2 separate regions of the Homo sapiens genome follow, and region 1 is linked to region 2. Evidence: promoter capture Hi-C in 16 types of primary human blood cells and fetal thymus (Javierre and others, 2016). All regions are on one chromosome and are shown on one strand. The core of a region is centred on a gene start or on the middle of the fragment in contact, and the rest is flanking DNA. Distances in the headings are between cores, read along the strand shown.

Region 1 (3,649 bases), core at 110-2,609, 500 kb after region 2:
AAAAAATAAGTTAGAGTGCAACTGCAAATTCCAAAATGATTAAGCCCTTGGAAATAAAATGGGATACATGATTTGAAAGATATCCAAGAGGTGGCATGTGCAGTAAGAAGAACTCAGCATTGGGCAGGCTGGTGGCTATAGCACCAGTGCTGAGAGGGCAGGATGTTAAGTAGGAAAGAAAAGCCTTTAGAGAAGGGCAGAGTTCCAGGATCCCTGTCCATATGGACAACATGACCCTAGTCTCTCATGTCTGTCAGCTCTTGTGTCTTCTGGCTTTTCTTAGTCTCACTCAGCCACATTGTTTGTAGCACTCACTTCCCTTGAAGGCACTTGAAACTGGGACATCTGTCCACAGACAGGCCTGTCTGGACAGCCTTCCAAAATGCTCATGGCAATGAGAAAGTCTCTGAGTCCCAGTCATTTCCCTGCACACAGAGTAGTTCCCATCTTAGCAAAACTGGGTGTTCTCTGAGTATCACTCAGCACATGGAAGCTGTCCAGACTTCTGTCCTGTGCAGGCAGGCAGTAACCTGGGATCTCTGCTCTTGCATGCAGATAAACTTACAGTCCTTCAAAGCTTCAAGCTCCTAGATGGTGAAACAATACATCTGTGCTGAGAGTGAGGAGAAGGATGCAATAGTCTTCCAGTTTTGTACTTTTACACTTCTGGGTCATCAGAAACCAAAGATTTGCCTTGGTTTCCCAAAGTGTTGGGATTACAGGCATGATCCACCACGTCCAGCTTCAATAATTATTATTTTTTATTTATTTATTTTGAGACAGAGTCTTGCTCTGTCACCCAGGCTAGACTGCAGTGGCGCCATCTCGGCTCACTGCAAGCTCCACCTCCAAGGTTCACACCATTCTCCTGCCTCAGCCTCCTGAGTAGCTGGGACTACAGGTGCCTGCCACCACACCCAGCTAATTTTTTGTATTTTTAGTAGAGACGGGGTTTCACCGTGTTAGCCAGGATGGTCTCAATCTGCTGACCTTGTGATCCACCTGCCTCGGCCTCCTAAAGTACTGGGATTACAGGCATGAGCCTCCACACCCGGCCCTCAATTATTTTTGATAGTTTTGTGTCAATATTTCCATGATATATAACAATTCCTTATTATTCTAGCAATCTTTTCCTCATCATTTTGTCTTAGTTCTACATAATTCTTATACTGAGGATTAAACTGAAGCATGGCTCTAACCCTGAAACTTCTCTAATAATTTTTAATCTCAATGATATTGTTTGAATATTTGTCCCCCTCCAAATCTCATGTTGAAATTTGGTTCGGGACAGAGCAGTGGCTTACACCTGTAATCCCAGCACTTTGGGAAGCCAAGGTGGGAGGATAGCTTGTGGCCAGGAGTTCAAGACCAGCCTGGGCAACACAGAGAGACCCCTGTCTTGATAAAAATAAAAAAGGCCAGGCGCGGTGGCTCACACCTGTAATCCCAGCACTTTGGGAGGCTGAGGCGGGCGGATCACAAGGTCAGGAGATCAAGACCATCTTGGCTAACACAGTGAAACCTCGTCCCTACTAAAAATACACACACACACACACACACACACACAAAATTACCCAGGCGTGGTGGCGGGCACCTGTAGTCCCAGCTACTTGGGAGGCTGAGGCGGGAGAATGGCATGAACCCAGGAGGTGGAGCTTGCAGTGAGCCAAGATCGCGCCACTGCACTCCAGCCTGGGCAACAGAGTAAGACTCCATCTCAAAAAATAAATAAATAAATAAATAAATAAATAAAATAAAAAAGATTTTGATAATATTGGAAGTGGGACCTAAAGGGAGGTGTTTGGGTCATGGGGGTCGAGCTATCATGAATGGCTTGGTGCAGCCCCCAAGTAATAAGTAGGTTCTCACTCTATTAGTACATACAATAAAAAGAGAACCATGTCAAAAGGTACCTGAGATACACCAAGAAAGCTCAAACTTGAAGACATGTTTTTAATATGTAAATGTGTATGAATGGATACATACAAGATGTGTTTAAAATCTGTTTGAGCTGCCACTGTCAGATTCAATGTATAGCTAGCATCAATTTGCTGGGGTTAGAGGGCATCAAGATCTTCCCAGAAATTCAGAGCCTTAGGTAATCCAAAGGAAGATTCTGTCAACATTTATACCTAAGCTTGACAGCCCTGATGCCTCTTTGGACCTGGCTTGGAAATATGATCCTCTATTGTAGCAATTGTACCTTGTTGCTGAATGATGTCATCATCCACAAGATGGATCCATTCTTGATTCTCACCCTATTGACTTTTTTCCATTGCAACCATAACATGGGCTAGCTGCTCTACACCTCTCCAGTGGACTTCAAGTGCTGCTGAGCTCAAATAAATCTTGTCTGTCCCACCATTTTAACCAGACAGGCAGAGCTCTTCTGTCTTAAGTGTCTCATAAATCTTTCAAATAGGTAAACTTCTAGTGCTATGCTTCCTCTGACCGTTCTGCTATTCTGTTTTCCTGTGCCATGGTTTCTCATTAGGTTTTCTACTGTTTTTTTGTTTGTTTGTTTGTTTGTTTTTCTTTTTGTTTTTGTTTTTGAGATGGAGTTTCACTCTTGTCGCCCGGGCTAGAGTGCAATGGCGCGTTCTCGGCTCACTGCCGCCTCTGCCTCTCGGGTTCAAGCAATTCTCCTGTCTCAGCCTCCTGAGTACCTGGGATTACAGGCACCCCCCACCAAGCCCAGGTAATTTTTTTTTTTTTTTGTATTTTTGGTAGAGACAGGGTTTCACCATATTGGCCAGGCCGGTCTCGAACTCCTGACCTCAGGTGATCTGCCCACCTTGGCCTCCCAAAGTGTTGGGATTACAGGCATGAGCCACTGCGCCCGGCCCTACTATTGTTTTTTGAAGCCCTAAATTCAAGGACAAAGGTCTGGCTTTGAAGAGAGTCACCATGTTCAGTAACCTTTCTGGTCTTCAAATAAGCTCTCCCAATGATCTTGGAGTTGGACTGTATTCTGAATGATCTCTTCACTGTGTCTTTGCTCTCTCAGTAGGTTGTAAGGTCTGTGAAAGCTGTAGCCAGTCCTTCATCTTTGTGTATATGGCTCCCATCACCGCATCTGGCATATGGAAGGATATCAACACATGCTTGTGAAATGTTGAAACTAATCAGACTTTTACAGTAAGAATGATATTTGACCAAAAAAATCTGCATTTGTATCTGTCAACTTAAAAGAATCACACAATTATTAATTTAGAAAGGAGATTTTCTTTTCTTTTCTTTTCTTTTTTTTTTTTTTTTTTTTTTTTTGAGACAGGGTCTCACTCTATCACCCAGGCTGGAATGCAATGGCACAATCATGGCTCACTGTAGCCTCAGCTTCCCCAGACTCAGGAGATCCTCCCACCTCAGCCTCCTTAGTAGCTGGGACTACAGGCATGTGCCATCATGCCTGGCTAATTTTGGTGCTTTTTGTAGAGATGGGGTTTCTCCATGTTACCCAGGCTGGTCTCAAACCCCTGGGCTCAGGTGACCCCTCTGCCTCAGTCTCCCAAAATGCTGGGATTACAGGTGTTAGTCACTGTCCCCGGACAACTTTCTTTTTTTTTTTTTGTAGAGACGCAGTTTTGCCGTGTTGGCCAGGCTGGTTTTGAACTCCAGGCTGGTTTTGGCCCCAAGTGATCTGCCCACC
Region 2 (3,309 bases), core at 171-2,670:
CAGTGCTTTGCACAACACAGAGGAAGTCAGTATTTTTGACTGAATGAATAGGGCTAGGTGACCTTAAGCCTAAGTACCTATTGAGCACATTTTCCAAGGATTTTCGGAAAATTTCCTTTGAAAAGGAAATGTTTGTGTAGCCTTGTGGAAAACTGATTCTATCACCAAGGTAAGCAGCCTAAGCGCACCTGCTGGAAAGAAGGCAATCCTAAACTGTCTGTTAATAAAAAGTCAAGGTTTACAAATAAAAGGGGTGCAATGAAGAAAAGGGGCACACTTTAAATAAGAAGAGTAGGTAGGCACCTAAGCCCCACGCGCTTCTCCGAATAAGTCTGTCCTACAAGACTCCTGACAAACAGACCACCTAAGGACTGGCCGGCGCCACAGGGTGAATAAAGGACACCGGCAACCATAAACAAGTCACGCTTTTAAAAGCGAGACATACCAGCAAGGACACAATACCCTACTGAGCCAGCTTCGGCTGGCAGGCGCCGTGACCTCACCCAAAGCCACTGGTGTCACGGCTACTGCCACCGGTGCCGTCCCTTGCTCGGCAACTAACTGCCACCCGCTGGCATCTGCACGAGACCGCTATTTATAACCTCCCTAGGAAGCCGATTGGCCACGGCTGCAAATAGTCATTCCGGCTGTTGAGTTTGAACTAGCTCTGCCCAGGTCGCCCTCTCCGCTGTCTCTTCCTCCTCACCAGCCTAGGCCCCAGAAACTTGTACCCACCACCGCCAGACCGCCCCAACTCACACTCACAATTTGTGCTCGCAATCTCCTATGTCCCCAGCCGGACACCCTCTCCGAACTCCCTCAAGGGTCAAGCATACCTCAAGGGCATCCAGCTGCCACCTCTCTGGATGAACCGCCCATCGAAAGTCCTCTATGACCTCCCTCTCCACCACCCCCGATCTTGAGGGCCGAAATGACCCCGTACGACTCTCGCTGTCCCCCAAAGCTGCAAATATCTGCACCTGCACAGCTGCCGCCTCATTCCCTGCCCTCTTCGGGGACCCAGTTCCCAAATCCACCAGCCCACTCCCTTCGACATCGCCCCAGCAGGAGACGAGAAAGGGACACCAAGAGGCACGGTGCTTCTTCCCCACCTAAGCCTGCGGCCTGCGGACACCCCAATGCACCCTGCGCCCGGGACACCGCCGACCCCGCCCCGCTTTGCTCTTTGACAGGTCTCTCTCCCGGCGAGGGCCGTGGTCTTCAGGAAAGGCCCGAGCCCCTTTCCCAGCTGCGCCCTAGGCGCGCGCCCCGGCTGCCCGCACCCGCCAGTGCCGTCGCGCTCACCTGGGCCGGGAGGCTGACAGCCTTGGGCTGTGCCCTGAGGGCCGCGAGAGGACGTCGCGCTGGCAGACCCGGGCTTGGGCCCCGCGGCGCTGCGCCTCCAACCCGGAAGAACAGCCCCAACTCCGCGGCGGCGGGCGGCCACGTGACTGCAGCTCCGCTCCCACCTCGGCCCGCGCCCCTTCCCCGCCCCAGCTTTCTTCCCGCCAGGCCCCCTCCACCCGATCGCCGCGCGCTCTCCGAACCAAAAGGCGACCTCACGAAATGCCCCTTTGAGCTCAAAGGCTAGTTACCCCCAGGGGCCCTTCCACTCTCGGGGACAGGCGAAACCTCTTTGTCTCTGCCTCGGCCTGCGGCCCCCAGCCCAGCCTCCGCGCTTTCCCTCCGCCAGTCCTTGTCAATCAAACCTGGTGCCAAACGCGGCAGCTGAAGTTTTCAGGGACACATTTGCTTCTCCCCTTGAAGAACCAGTTACAAAGCGTGATGTCCTCTCTGGGGTCCCATCAGAACAAAGAAACAGGTAATATAACTCCACTCCGGGTACCTGCCTTTCCTCCAGCTCGCTAGGAAAAATCAGAACTTCTGTAACAGAGAGGACCCAAGGGAAAGGGGCAGGCGGAGAGGGGTTGGTGAAGGGCGGGAATGGGGGGCGTTGATTTTCCATTCTGGCAGGAGAGGTGGAGTTAAATTCCTCAGAAACGATGTCCAGGCTTGAAAAGTAACACACATCTGCGTGCTTGTCTTCCAACATCAGAGCCAGCCTAGAGGAAGCTGGCTAGTGTCACTGCTAGTACGAATATCCCCGAGGCTGGAAAGCATCTGGGTGGAGGTTGTGAGCTTTCCAGACCAGGCCTCGGCTGTTTTTCTAAAACTATTAACCGTAATGACCTAGTCGTTCTTTTCACACAGTTCTGTTACTTATTCTGCAGGTGTATTCTGACTAAAAGTGGGAGGAATAAAAAATAGAGTGTAAAATGGTTCACTTGCCCAAAACTTAATCATCATGAAGTGTCAGTAACGTCATTTATTTCTATTAATTGAAATTTTGATACAAGAAAAATAATTATGAATCTAAAAGGTATAAGCAGAACAGGTATTCCATAACTTTAAAAAGAAATGAGCCGCAGGGAAACCCTTAGTTTGAGAACTTGTCTTGTGATTAACCTACACAGAAGGTCATTCAACTAATGGATTCCCACTGCAGTCCAAACTCACAGACAGGAAATGACACAGCCCCATGTTTTAAAATAATAATGAGCCGTGGTAAGTGTGACCATAGGGACGGTTTCCAGATACTGAAGGTACAATGAAGTGAGATTAGTAATGATCCCACTTAGTAAGGATTTTAAACTAAGTTATTGATTTAAAACTTTTTGTAGGGGTCAGGAGTTGCTGCTTTGTCTTTTAGGGATTAATAATTCGTGGTTCCCAACTGGGGACAATTTAGTTCCGAGGGATATTTGGCAATGTCTAGAGACATTTTGGTTGTCACAATTGGAGAGGGGACCTATCTAATGGGTTGGGGCCAGGGATATTACTGAACACCTCACACTACACAGCCCCTCACGACGAAGCATTATCCAGCCCCAAATGTCAATAGTGCTGAGGCTGAAAAATCCTGGCTTAAATTAATGCTCAGTACATTATTTAATTTTGACTTGCTTATAAATTTATATCACATGAAAACAAACTCAAAGATAACATACTGTTTTTCACTTTTGAAAATCATGAATGTTAGGCATATGATAATTTTAATAACAAGCATATGATTATTTTATTCCGCTTACTTGTACAACATAATTTGGGTGCCATTTCTTCAGGAGAAAACATTTGTCATTTGGAATGCTCTGTTTCAGTCCTTAAGCTTCTACGTATAATTACAGCATATTATTCATAAACGGAGTCCCCAATGAAAATAGGATTAAGTTCCAAAAGTTTGCTTTTAAGTTAGTTGCTTCTAAGTCTTAGACACTGTCTTGAATAAAATTTTTGTAGAGATTTGATATT

Evidence for each region. Contacts are between HindIII fragments. The CHiCAGO score rates a contact against its expected background, and 5 or more counts as called.
Region 1: a fragment that was not itself captured here is called in contact with the fragment with the promoter of NNT in region 2 in 4 of 17 cell types (non-activated CD4 T cells, naive CD4 T cells, activated CD4 T cells and 1 more); the score reaches 5.6 in non-activated CD4 T cells.

What each region holds. Positions count from the first base shown.
Region 1 is chr5:43,098,447-43,102,095 of GRCh38, reverse strand. No RefSeq gene overlaps it. Among named protein-coding and RNA genes, the nearest start is that of ZNF131, 21 kb to the left of the region's middle. The HindIII fragment of the contact is 1,560 bases long and covers 580-2,139 here.
Region 2 is chr5:43,601,291-43,604,599 of GRCh38, reverse strand. NNT (nicotinamide nucleotide transhydrogenase) reads right to left here and starts at 1,420. Exons shown (of 22, transcript NM_182977.3): 1 at 1,306-1,420. NNT-AS1 (NNT antisense RNA 1) reads left to right here and starts at 1,370. Exons shown (of 3, transcript NR_073113.1): 1 at 1,370-1,822. RefSeq lists silencers at 1,160-1,379, 1,500-1,589, 1,853-2,072 and an enhancer at 3,227-3,309. The HindIII fragment of the contact is 7,409 bases long and covers 1-3,168 here.